Regions from separate parts of the Homo sapiens genome. Here regions 1 and 2 are each linked to region 3. The links are contacts of gene promoters, found by promoter capture Hi-C in blood cells and fetal thymus (Javierre and others, 2016). All regions are on one chromosome and are shown on one strand. The core of a region is centred on a gene start or on the middle of the fragment in contact, and the rest is flanking DNA. Distances in the headings are between cores, read along the strand shown. Region 1 has its middle 35 kb from the start of FRRS1. Region 2 overlaps FRRS1 (ferric chelate reductase 1). Region 3 holds the start of SLC30A7 (solute carrier family 30 member 7).

The links. The method cuts DNA at HindIII sites, captures the fragments that hold promoters and counts their contacts. A CHiCAGO score of 5 or more calls a contact.
Region 1: a contact is called between a fragment that was not itself captured here and the fragment with the promoter of SLC30A7 in region 3, in 6 of 17 cell types (naive B cells, naive CD4 T cells, naive CD8 T cells and 3 more). The highest score is 8.9, in naive B cells.
Region 2: a contact is called between a fragment that was not itself captured here and the fragment with the promoter of SLC30A7 in region 3, in 2 of 17 cell types (M2 macrophages and M0 macrophages). The highest score is 6.2, in M2 macrophages.

Annotation. Positions count from the first base shown.
Region 1 is chr1:99,799,953-99,803,829 of GRCh38, reverse strand. No RefSeq gene overlaps it. Among named protein-coding and RNA genes, the nearest start is that of FRRS1, 35 kb to the right of the region's middle. The HindIII fragment of the contact is 810 bases long and covers 1,460-2,269 here.
Region 2 is chr1:99,746,865-99,750,737 of GRCh38, reverse strand. FRRS1 (ferric chelate reductase 1) reads left to right here. Exons shown (of 17, transcript NM_001361041.2): 2 at 1,737-1,841; 3 at 1,970-2,165; 4 at 3,308-3,444. The coding sequence starts at 1,970. Among named protein-coding and RNA genes, the nearest start is that of FRRS1, 18 kb to the left of the region's middle. The HindIII fragment of the contact is 1,360 bases long and covers 1,918-3,277 here.
Region 3 is chr1:100,894,101-100,897,783 of GRCh38, reverse strand. SLC30A7 (solute carrier family 30 member 7) reads right to left here and starts at 1,694. Exons shown (of 11, transcript NM_133496.5): 1 at 1,442-1,694; 2 at 1,113-1,214. The coding sequence starts at 1,521. EXTL2 (exostosin like glycosyltransferase 2) reads left to right here and starts at 2,942. Exons shown (of 5, transcript NM_001033025.3): 1 at 2,942-3,151. RefSeq lists enhancers at 1,190-1,349, 1,400-1,649, 2,200-2,269, 2,164-2,886, 2,887-3,610. The HindIII fragment of the contact is 2,158 bases long and covers 285-2,442 here.

The DNA.
Region 1 (3,877 bases), core at 615-3,114, 1.1 Mb after region 3:
TTAAGAGGTCAATTTCGGACATTCTGAGGTTGAGAGGTCTATTAGAGGCAATAGAATAAATGAGTAGAGAGCTGAGCAGAGGAATTGGGGCTAAAGATATCTTTAAGAGTTGTGGACATACAGATTTGTTTACAGTCATGAGATTGAATATAATTTTCAACAGAAAACATATAAGAAGAGGAGATATTCAAGAACTAAATCTATCCTAATATTAAGAGGTCATGGAAAAATTGAAGAGCCAGCAAAGGACAAGAAAGATGAACCAGCGTGGTTTCAGGTTCACACTGAAAGTGTGGTGTCCTGAGAGTCAAACGAAATATGTCAAGGAGGAGGAGACAATTGATGATGTCAAATCCTCCTAATTTGTCAAGTAAGATAAGCAATTTTAATTTAACGAAGCAGAGGGCATTGTTAGATCAAAGTTCTAGATCAAAGTTCAAGAATCCTTCAACTAAAGTAGTTTCCATGAAGTAGTGAGGATAGACATATATTTGGGTGGATTTAACTGAGTATAGGAAAAGAAGAATTGGAATCAGGGGATGTGATGGTTAATTTTATGTGTCAACTTGAATGGACCATAGGAGCCACAGTGGTTGTTGTTGTTGTTGTTGTTGTTGTTGTTTTGGCAAAAGGGTCTCACTCTCATTGCTCAGACTAGACTGCAGTGGCACATGATCTCAGCTCACTACAGCCTCGCCTTCCAGGGCTCAGGTGATCCTCCCACCTCATCCTCCCTAGCTGCTGGGACTCCAGGCATGTGCCATGACGCCCAGCTAATTTTTTTGTATTTTTTTAGTAGAGACAAGGTTTTGCCATGTTGCCCAGGCTGGTCTTGAACTCCTGGCCTCTACACACCTCGATCCCGAAGTGCTGGGATTACAGGCAGGAGCCACCGCACCTGGCCAAGATTAACATTGGAATTGGTAGACTGAGTAAAGCAGATTATCCTGCCCAATGTGGGTGGGTCTCATGGAAATCCACTGAAGGCCTGAAAGGAACACAGGGGTGAGTAAGGCAGGATTCTCTCCCTGCCTAATGATTGTCAAGCTAGGATGTCAGACTTTGGACTGATACTCAGACTGGTACTCATACCATTGGCTGTCCTTTGTGCTGACTATAGATCTTGGGATATCTGTCTTCATAATCACATGACCCAATTTCTTTTTTTTTTTTTGAGTCTTACTCTGTTGCCTAGGCTGGAGTGCAGTGGCATGATCTTGGCTCACTGCAACCTCTGCCTCCCAGGTTCAAGTGATTCTCCTGCCTCAGCCTCCTGAGTAGCTGGGACCAGAGATGAATGCCACAGCTAACTTTTGTATTTTTAGTAGAGATGGGGTTTCACCATGTTGACCAGGCTGGTCTTGAACTCCTGACCTCAAGTGATCCGCCCACCTCGACCTCTCAAAGTGCTGGGATTACAGGTGTGAGCCACTTCACCTGGCCCAATTTCTTATAAGCTTCTTTATATCTATCTATTTATATCTCTTAGCAGTTCTGTTTCTATGGATAACCCAGACTAATACAGATTTTGATACTGAGAAGTGAGGTGCTGCTGTAACAAATGCTTAAACATGTGGAAGTTGCTTTGGAAATGGGTAATGGGTAGAGGCTGGAAGAGTTTTAAGGTGCATACTATAAATATAGATATTAAGGGTGATTCTTGTGAAGTCTCAGATGGTAACAAAGATCATGTAGGAACCTGAAGGAGAGGCAATCCTTGTTATAAAGAGGGAAATAACCTGACTGAATTGTGTTTGTGTTCTAGTGTTTTTTTGGAAAGTAGAACTGGTAAGCAATGAAACTGGAAATTTCCCTGAGAATATTTCTAAGCAAAGTGTTGAAGGAGTATCTTAGTTCCTCCTGACTGTTTATAGTAATATGTGAGAGGACAGAGATGAACTGAAGAAAGGATTGTTAAGCAACAAGGAACTAGATCTTAAATATTTGGAAAATTCAGCCTATTGATATTGCAAAAAATGCAAAAACATATTCTGAAAGGAACACCAAGGGTGTGGCTGGACTTTCACTCAATAAAGAGTTTATGATATTATAGGAGCAGAAGCACTGTCAGCTTGAACTGAGGGATGGAGGTTGGACAAAATGAAGAAAGGATATTTGACTTCTTAGATTTTGAAAGACAAGACGATAGAGCTATCTGGGTATAAACGTGCACTGTTCAAAGACAGAGAAAAATTGCCCTGAAGGCAATTCAGAGATTATCACGGTCACCATTCAGTTTTAAAAGGCCAGGTGGCCTCTGACCAAAGCTTGGGAGCCAGGACCTCTCTGCAGAGCTGTGGGGCCAAGACCACCATGTACAGCCTTAGGGGGATGACCCCCTCACCCCAACACCACCAGGCCTAGAAGGCAGAGTGTTGAAGAGGATTATTCTCCGGGCTTAAGATCTCATGGAATACCTTGTTGGGTTTTGAACTGGCTTGAAACCAACTACCTTTCCTTCTTTCCTGCTTCTTCTTTTGGAATGGGAATGTTTATTCTATGTCTGTCCCACTATTGTATTTTGGAATCAGATAACATATTTGGTTTCAAAGGTTCACAGCTGGAGAAAAATTTTGCCTCATAATGAATTACATCTCAAGTCTCGGCAATATCCAGTTTAGATGATTTTTAGAGAGACTTTAATAACAAACCTGCACATGTACCTCTGAACTTAAAACAAAAGTTAAAGAAAACCTTATTAAGTTAAGAAAAAATATTAGACTTTAAATGTTAGACTTTAGAGTTGAAACTGGAATGCGTTAAGACTTTAGGGGCACTGGTCACTTCCAAGATGGCCAAATAGGAACAGCTCTGGTCTATAGCTCCCAGCAAGATTGACAAAGCAGATGGGTGATTTCTGCATTTCCAACTGTGGTACCTGATTCATCTCATTGGGACTGGTTGGACAGTGGGTGCAGCCCATGGAAGGCAAGCTGAAGCAGGGTGGGGCATTGCCTCACCGGGGAAATGCAAGGGGTTGGGGGATTTCCCATTCCTAGCCAAGGGAAGCCGTGAGTGACTGTACCTGGAGGAGTGGTACACTTCTGCCCAAATACTGCACTTTTCCCATGGTCTTCACAACCTGCAGACCAGGAGATCCCCTCCTGTGCCTGGCTCAGCAGGTCCTATGCTCACAGAGCCTTGCTTGCTGCTAGCGCAGCAGTCTGAGATCAACCTGGGATGCCGGAGCTTGGTGGGGGGAGGGGTGTCCACCATTGCTGAGGCTTGAGTAGGTGGTTCTATGTTCACAGTGTAAACAAAGTGGCAGGGAAGCTCGAACTGGGTGGAGCCCACTGGAGCTCAGCAAGGCCTACTGCCTCTCTAGATTCCACCTATGAGGGCAGGGCATATCTGAACAAAAGGCAGCAGACAGCTTCTCCATACTTAAACATCCCTGCCTGACCATTCTGAAGAGAGCAGTTGTTCTCCCAGCACGGCATTCGAGCTGCAATAACAGACAGACTGCCTCCTCAAGTGGGTCCCTGACCCCTGTGTAGCCTGACTGGGAGACACCTCCCAGTAGGGGCTGACAGACACCTCATACAGGTGGGTGCCCCTCTGGGATGAAGCTTCCAGAGGAAGGATCAGGCAGCAATATTTGCTATTCTGCAGCCTCTGCTGGTGATACCCAGGCAAACAAGGTCTGGAGTGGACCTCCAGCAAACTCCAACAGACCTGCAACTGAGAGGCTTCTCTGTTAGAAGAAAAACCAACAAACAGAAAAGAATAGCATCAACATCAACAAAAAGGACATCTACACCAAAACCTCATCCATAGGTCACCAACATCAAAGACCAAAGGTAGATAAAACCACAAAGAGGGGAGAAACCAGAGCAGAAAGGCTGAAAATTCCAAAAACTAGAACACCTCTTCTCCT
Region 2 (3,873 bases), core at 1,348-3,847, 1.1 Mb after region 3:
TGTACCTTTTGTAGTTCCACAGTTCTTGGATCTGTTCTCTTTTTCAGTCTTTTTTTTTTTCTTTTCAGTTTGATATTTTTCTATTGAGATATCTTCGGGCTAAGAGATTCTTATCTCAGATATGTCCAGTCTACCCACAAGCCCATACTTCACTTCTTTTAAAGTGTTTTTGATCTCTAGCATTTCTTTTTGGTTCTGAGAATTTCCATCTCTGTGCATTTGTTCTTGCATGCCATCTACTTTATCCATTGGAGCATTTAGCATCTTAATCATAATGTTTTAAATTCCTGGTCTAATAATTCCAACATCTCCATCATACCTAAGTCTGGTTCTGAGGCTTGCTCTATTTCTTCAAATTGTGTTCTCTGCCTTTCAGTATGCCTTGTAATTTGTTCTTAATAACTGGACATGATGCAGTGGGTAAAAGGAACTGCTGTAAATAGGCCTTTAATAATGTGGTGGTAAGGAGAGGGAGGAGGAGAACTGTTCTGTAGTCCTGTGAGTAGACCTCAGTATTTTAGTGAGCTTATGCCCCTGGAGTGTGAACTTCACAACCGCTTCAAGGTTCTTCCCCCACTTAAGTGAAACAGGATGGCTAATGTGGGCAGGAATTGGGTATTTCCCATCCTCCAGGTCATGTAGGCTCTGATAAAACCCCAGCAGGTTAGGCTGCGGTTAAATAGTTGCTCCTGATTGACATAACTAAAAAACAATAATTTTTTCTAGTGATTCTAAGGCTGCTATTGTCTATGACCAGATATATGATATAGAAAACTCCTTTTCTATAAATAATAAACTGCCTCTTAGGTGTTTCCCATCTGCAACCTGTCCATGGTGTTAACTTTATTTACTGCCATGTATCATGTCACTGCTCATCACCTCCAGCCTTGTTGAGTCCTGTGATTTGCAGGTTTTGAATATATGCATGAAGCAAAGTGGTTGATCTGGGCTACAAGAGTGTGGGACTGAGGTAAAGTAGCTGGTTTTCTATTATCCAGATGCTAAGAGGAAGATTGGAGCTGTGGGAGGGAAGAAGATTGTGTGGGCTGACAATTGTGTTTCTTAATTCAGAAGTATCTGGGCTACATGTAGTAGAATTATTATCTCTACCAATTGGTTCTCTGTTATCCTCAGTTTTCAGTATTGCAAATTAAATAATCCACCCAGTCATCATGATCAGTTTAATAGGAAGTTGGGAAAAGTCTTATCATAGATTTATTCAGGTGATGATATTTAAATCCAGAAGAAACATTTCTTCTTTGTTCTTTAAGCTTTCTAGGATGACGTGGAGTAAAACCTTTTGCTTTTATTGACTAGTTTATTATTTCCAATTGATAATAAAGAAAGCTATTATTTATTATCTTCCTTGTCAGATTTTGAGCTATATTTTCATTTTTATTTAAACAACATTGGGCCAGGCACAGTGGCTCATGCCTGTAATCCCAGAACTTTGGGAGGCCAAGGTGGGCGGATCACCTAAGGTCAGGAGTTCGAGACCAGCCTGGTGTAACTCCGTCTCTACCAAAATACAAAAATTAGCCAGGTGTGGTGGCGCATGCCTGTATTCTCAGCTACTGGGGAAGCTGAGGCAAGAGAATCACTTGAACCCGGGAGGCGGAGGTTGCAGTGAGCCGAGATTGTGCCACTGCACTCCAGCTCGGGCAACAGAGCGAGATCTATGTCTCGAGAAAAAAAAAACAGCATTGAAAAGAGATCTTTGTTTCCTTATTTTTCAGGTAAGGAAGTGGAGGATTAAATGATTTGCCCAAAGTCTCACAGTAATTTGTAGAGCTGAGATTGAAATTCGGGTGAAACTTCACATATCACATTCTTTTTATCAGGTATGTTGAGAATATGGTTTGCTGAACACAGAAAGCAAGTAGTTATCTAGAATTATGGTCCAGTTGTGTAAAAGCTTTTATATTTTAATTATATATGACAATAATGGGCTTTTACCCTTCTTTTTGAGATGGCAGTTTCTGGATTTACTCTTGGTACCTGCATACTTCTGTTGCACATTAGTTATGTGGCTAATTATCCCAATGGAAAAGTAACACAGTCATGCCATGGAATGATTCCTGAACATGGTCATAGTCCACAGTCTGTTCCTGTTCATGACATTTACGTGAGTCAGATGACATTCAGGCCAGGAGATCAGATTGAAGGTACCGTGCTGGGATTAACTGTTTACATTTTGGATTTCACTCTTTTACTGTTTATTGAATCTTTATTATTACTTGATTTAGAAGATTTCACTTAAATCTGTTTTCTTTTGTAAGATACTATCATACTTCTTATTTTTGGTTCCAGATGACTGTATTACTTAAGTAGTCTGTGTATTCCCCATCCAGAACAGGCTTTAAAATAAGTTTTTATCGTTATTTACTATTTTTATTAATTGTGCTATCACTTCAAGAGAAGAGAAAAATGAAGTTTATTTTATCTTGTTTAAAATATAATAAACCCTTGTCCTTCTTGATATCATATAATTTTAAGAACAATTCTCTAATTTCTCTGGTAAAATGTAGGCTGATTATTAAAGATAAATCTATAACAGCATTTTGCAAACTATTTTTTGCAACTCTAGAAATGCAAAATGTTAACAGGTACTCTGTTACATAGAGAGTATATAGAAAAATAAGTTTGGAATATTCTGTGTGATATATAATATACCTTAGAGTTCACACTGTACAGTAGGATATTAAATATCCTAAGAAATTTGCAGTAAAGAAACAAGTATTTACTTTCATCCAGTGTTTTTCTTTTTTTGTAATTCAATAAGAATTTATTGAGTGTCACTGTGAGCCAGACACTGTGTTAAATACTGCAATTCAAAAGAAAACACCTCATGTTTTTTCCTCTAATGAGGTCAAGTAAACATTTTTTTTTTAAACTTTTATTTTGGGTTCAGGGGTACATGTGTAGGTTTGTTTATAGGTAAATTCCATGTCACGAGGGTTTGGTGTACAGATTATTTCATCACTCAGGTGATAAGCATAGTACCCAATTGGTATCATCTAGCATTTTCCAAACTAACTTAGCCTTATGGACTGCCCCTGGACCATCACCTATTTTTCTTTTCTCTTTGCGGAATGGCTATTAATATCTCACAGATTGAATATCTTATGGAACACTGGAAAAAATTTTATGGAAAAAGTTTAGAGCTTCTTTGCCTATAAGATGACTGTTTTCTCTCCAGGAGTACTTTTGCATATGTAGACCTCATTGTAATTGTAATGTACAACCTCTAAACATTTTTTTTTGATATTACTAAGCTTTTTAACCAACCCTTTTGTCTTTTTCTCAGTTACTTTGTCAGGGCATCCATTTAAAGGCTTTCTCCTAGAAGCGCGTAATGCTGAGGATCTGAATGGCCCTCCTATTGGCTCCTTCACATTGATTGACAGTGAAGTGTCACAACTTTTGACCTGTGAAGATATACAGGTTTGTGTTTAGAGTTGATCCTTGAACAATGTGGAGGTTACAGGTGCAGACCCCACCCCTGGGGAAATTGGAAATCTGTGTATAACTTTTGACTCCCCCCAGACTTAACTACAAATAGCCTATTGGTGACCAGAAGCCTTACTGATAACAAATAGTTGATTAACACATATTTTGTATTTATATGTGTTATATACTGTATTCTTACAATAAAGTAAGCTAGACAAGAGAAAAATCTTATTAAGAAAATAAGAGAAAATATATTTACTATTCATTAAATAGAAGTGGATTATCATAAAGGTCTTTATTCTCATTGCCTTCATGTTGAATGGGCTGAAGAGGAGAAGGAAGAGGAGTGGCTGGTCTTGCTGTCTTGGGGTGGGTGGAGGAGGTGGAAGGGGAGGCAGGAGAGGCACCACACTGGTGTAACTT
Region 3 (3,683 bases), core at 445-2,944:
CTAAACCAATAACCTTCATAATCTGCTGGTTATTGAGTATTTTTTATAGAACTGAATTGACGGTTGAATTGAAAGAAGCCCAAGCATTATATAAAAGTATACATGTCACAAAACCTGGTGATATTACCTGTCAATGTTTGATCTCAACAGAAGATCAAGGACAGCGATTTTCTCTGAAAATGGGTCTTAAACAACAGAGACTAAGTCTATTTAATAAATAGAAAACAGGTTCTTAATCTAGAGTCCAAGATTTAGTACAGGGAACCCAACAACATCCTGAAGCTTTATGTACAATTCTGAGTATTGGCTTTCATCAGATTTTTGAAGGAGTATGGGATCTAAAGACAGAATTAGTACACCTAGGAGTGTGACAGTCTTGTTAGCAGAACAACTTCATAAGACCTTAAGTTACTCAACAGCAAATACCTGAATAATAGTAACTTCACTGCCACAGAGTTACACACTAGATTTTCCTCCTCCTAAGGATGTTTCAAAAAAAACAAAAACCCTCAAAGGTGCCACCAAAACCCAAGAAATGTTGTTTCTAGAAACTATATGGGATTTTTACATCGCAGTTAAGACTACAGGAAAATCATGAGACAGTTTCGGCATTAAAGAGAGAAGAGAATGACACATATTCCTCCCGATATCACTTTATAAAACCTCCCATTCCAAGCCCCAATAACAAACTAAGTAGAACATCTCAGATATACTCTCTCAGAATCTTAAGGGTGAAATCCAAATGCCACTCCCCCCCGAGAGAGGCAGCAAACAAGTTTCTCCCAATTCCAACAAAGTGGGTAAACCTAAGGCCTACAATTAGAAATGAAAGATTCTGCCCATCTGCTAAAATAAGGAGGGGCTTGTCAGTCTTGTCTGATGGAACTGGAGGGGAGCGTGACAAGAGAGGTTGCACAGGATAGGCCCAGATCTTACTCAAGAACTGTAGCCCTACCAGATTGGTGTGGGTATGAGAAAGCAACTCAGCAGCAGAGGTAGGTAACAAAGGTAGGACCTGAACCTCCTAGTGAGGAGCTACGTGGCATTAAGCAAACAGTGCTTCGTCTCCCTCACACCCAGCTTCCGCCCAAACCATTTTCCCCTTTGGTTACCAGTTGCTCCAGATGCCGTAGAGTAGTTCCACAAAAGCGAAAGAGAGGTTCAGGCACAGGAAGAAAAACAGGTTCCGGGAAGTCTTGTCGGACAGTATAGACCTGGGAATGATACACGTGGAAAAGAGCCGGGAGAGTTAAGGAGGTGCCGGGACCCCGAGGCTGGGTACCCTCTTCAAGACCCTCCCAGTTCACATGCTCCTTTCTTCACAGCTAGGGGTTGACGGGGAGTTTTTGACTCTCCCTCACTGGACCTCGGGCCATCCTGAGGTCTGGGCCTTCTCCCTTTCTGCCGGACACCCCCTCCCCGCAAACACAGCACCCCGCACCTAAACCAGCCCGAGATCTTGCCGAACAAATTGAACTTGGGTGGTTTGTATTCATCGTCTTTGATGGACAGGGGCAACATCTTCTCTGCCCGGCGAAGGGCCGGGTCTACTCCCCTCTAGAAGTGGCTCCGTGGGGTGATGGCAGTGACAGTAGTGACGCCTCAAACGGGAATCCCCAGCGCTTGTCCGGGGCCGCGCGCCGCTGCGAGACACAGACAGACACAGACACACACCCGGGAATTCGCTTACTTCCGGCCCGGGCCGCGCAACGCGTCCTGGGACAGGAAAGGAGGGAGGCCGGTCGCGGGCGGGGCCTGCGCGGCGGAGGGCGTGGCTTGCGGCGGGGGCGGGATGAGAAAGGTGCTGGAGCTGTTGGAGGGACGCCAGGAGGTGGCAACTACCAGGGGGTGTGAGGGGCTGACCTGGGATGGAATCCTGCCACCCGGACTCAGGAAGAAAATCCTGAGGTGGCGACCTGCAGACTGGGCTGGGAGATGGAGAGCCCGCTCACGCCCACCCGACCGCCTACCACCAGTGTTCCCGGATGCATGGGCTCCAGCGCCTGCCCTTTCGCCATTTCCTCCCAACTGGCATTAAATCCTGGTGTGGTAGATATCAGTGATTAAGAGTCTAGGCAGCCACGTGTTCTATTGCCGCCAGTCCGCAGGAAACGCAAGTGATCGTTTTGCTGCGTTAACTCTATGGGCGCCCAAATCTTAGGAATCCATTCCACGCCACCCCGAAAACAGCGCTTGACCCTTCTGGACTGCCACGCAGGAGGCGATCAATGTTTTTCTTTCTTTATTTTTTTAAGAGACAAGGTCTCGCCCTGTCACCTAGGCTGGAGCACAATGAGGCTCACTACAGCCTGGAACTCCCGGACGCAAGTGATCCTCCTCAGCCTCCGGAGTAGCTGAGACCTCAGGCGTGCGCCACCATGCCTGGCATCAATCAATGTCTTTCAAAATAAAGGCTGTTAAACGTAGTATAGGAAAGAAGCTTTTTAATGGTAGGTTCTACCAGACGTGTTTGTTTGATTTTTAGGTTTGGTTAATGCATTGTTTCCCGTACAATCTCAACCCGCGGAAACCCCGAAACTCTAGAATTCGTGCCGGTCTCTTTCGCTTCCAGGTCATCCCCGGGGCAACGGCCGCCGCTCTAATTCTTGTCAGAACCTCCAGGCCAGTTTCAGCAACGTGCAGGCAGAAGCTGGCCCCTCGGTGGGATGCGAGGGCGTGTGGAGCGCGGGGAGGAGAGCCCCACAGGCCTTTCCTGGGCACCCGCGGTGGATGGGAAGGCTCCTTCGGGCGCCTTTCAGGGAAGTTGTTTGGCTGAGGGAAGGTGGTCCGTCACGTGAATGTTTAAAAGTTGTTACCTTGGAGAAGAAATGGAGGAAAGGATTGGCTTTCGGAGGTGGGCTGGAAACTACAAAACCGAGCTTCCTGGGAATGCCTTTTAGGCCGACAGGAAGTGGAGCGTCACCGAAAGGGAGGGGCGGCCACTCGGGGACTGTCCCTTGCTCCAGGCGCTCACTTTGCGGGCGGCACTTTTTCCAGGTTGTTAATCCAGCTAATGGAGAAGGATAGATGCACGCTACTTGGTTTAGAAAAAAAAACAAAAATGAGCAAACGAGACGCCCCTTCCGTTTTATGATAACTAAGCTGCAGGGAAATAAATCGGCTGGCCCTACTGCAATCTACTGCACTCGAGGTAAGGAGACACAGCAAAATGCTCCAGTATTAGTATTTTTCTTTTTGTAGTGAGGATATATGCATGTTTTGCTCTCGTTCTGAGAACTTTGTGTGTGTGTATGGAGTATTCGGTGGTTTTATTTTTGAAAATATGTACTTATTCTACAATTTTGAAAAATGTTAATTAAAACTGCTGTGTAAAAACAGCTAGGTTTCAGAAGTAAGTTCTGGGAAGAGTATTTTGTATTTGCCTTTGTTAGCGTATATTTCATTCTTTTAATTTAAGTGTAGAAATATTTAAAATTAGTAGCATTTACTCTTTTTTTGGAAGGAAGTTTTTGTATTAGCAGTAGACCTTGAATTTTACTCTACTGCACTGCTGAGGAAAAATTAATTGGGTGCAAACTAGATAGTTTAAAGATAAATAATTCTATGGTAATTGGATTTTTCTCCAAAACGCCCTTATTCAATATGATTTAACTTGGGAGAAGGCGGGAGAAGTAATAGAAATAATTAAATTTCAGCAACTGATTTCCAGCATAATCCTAACT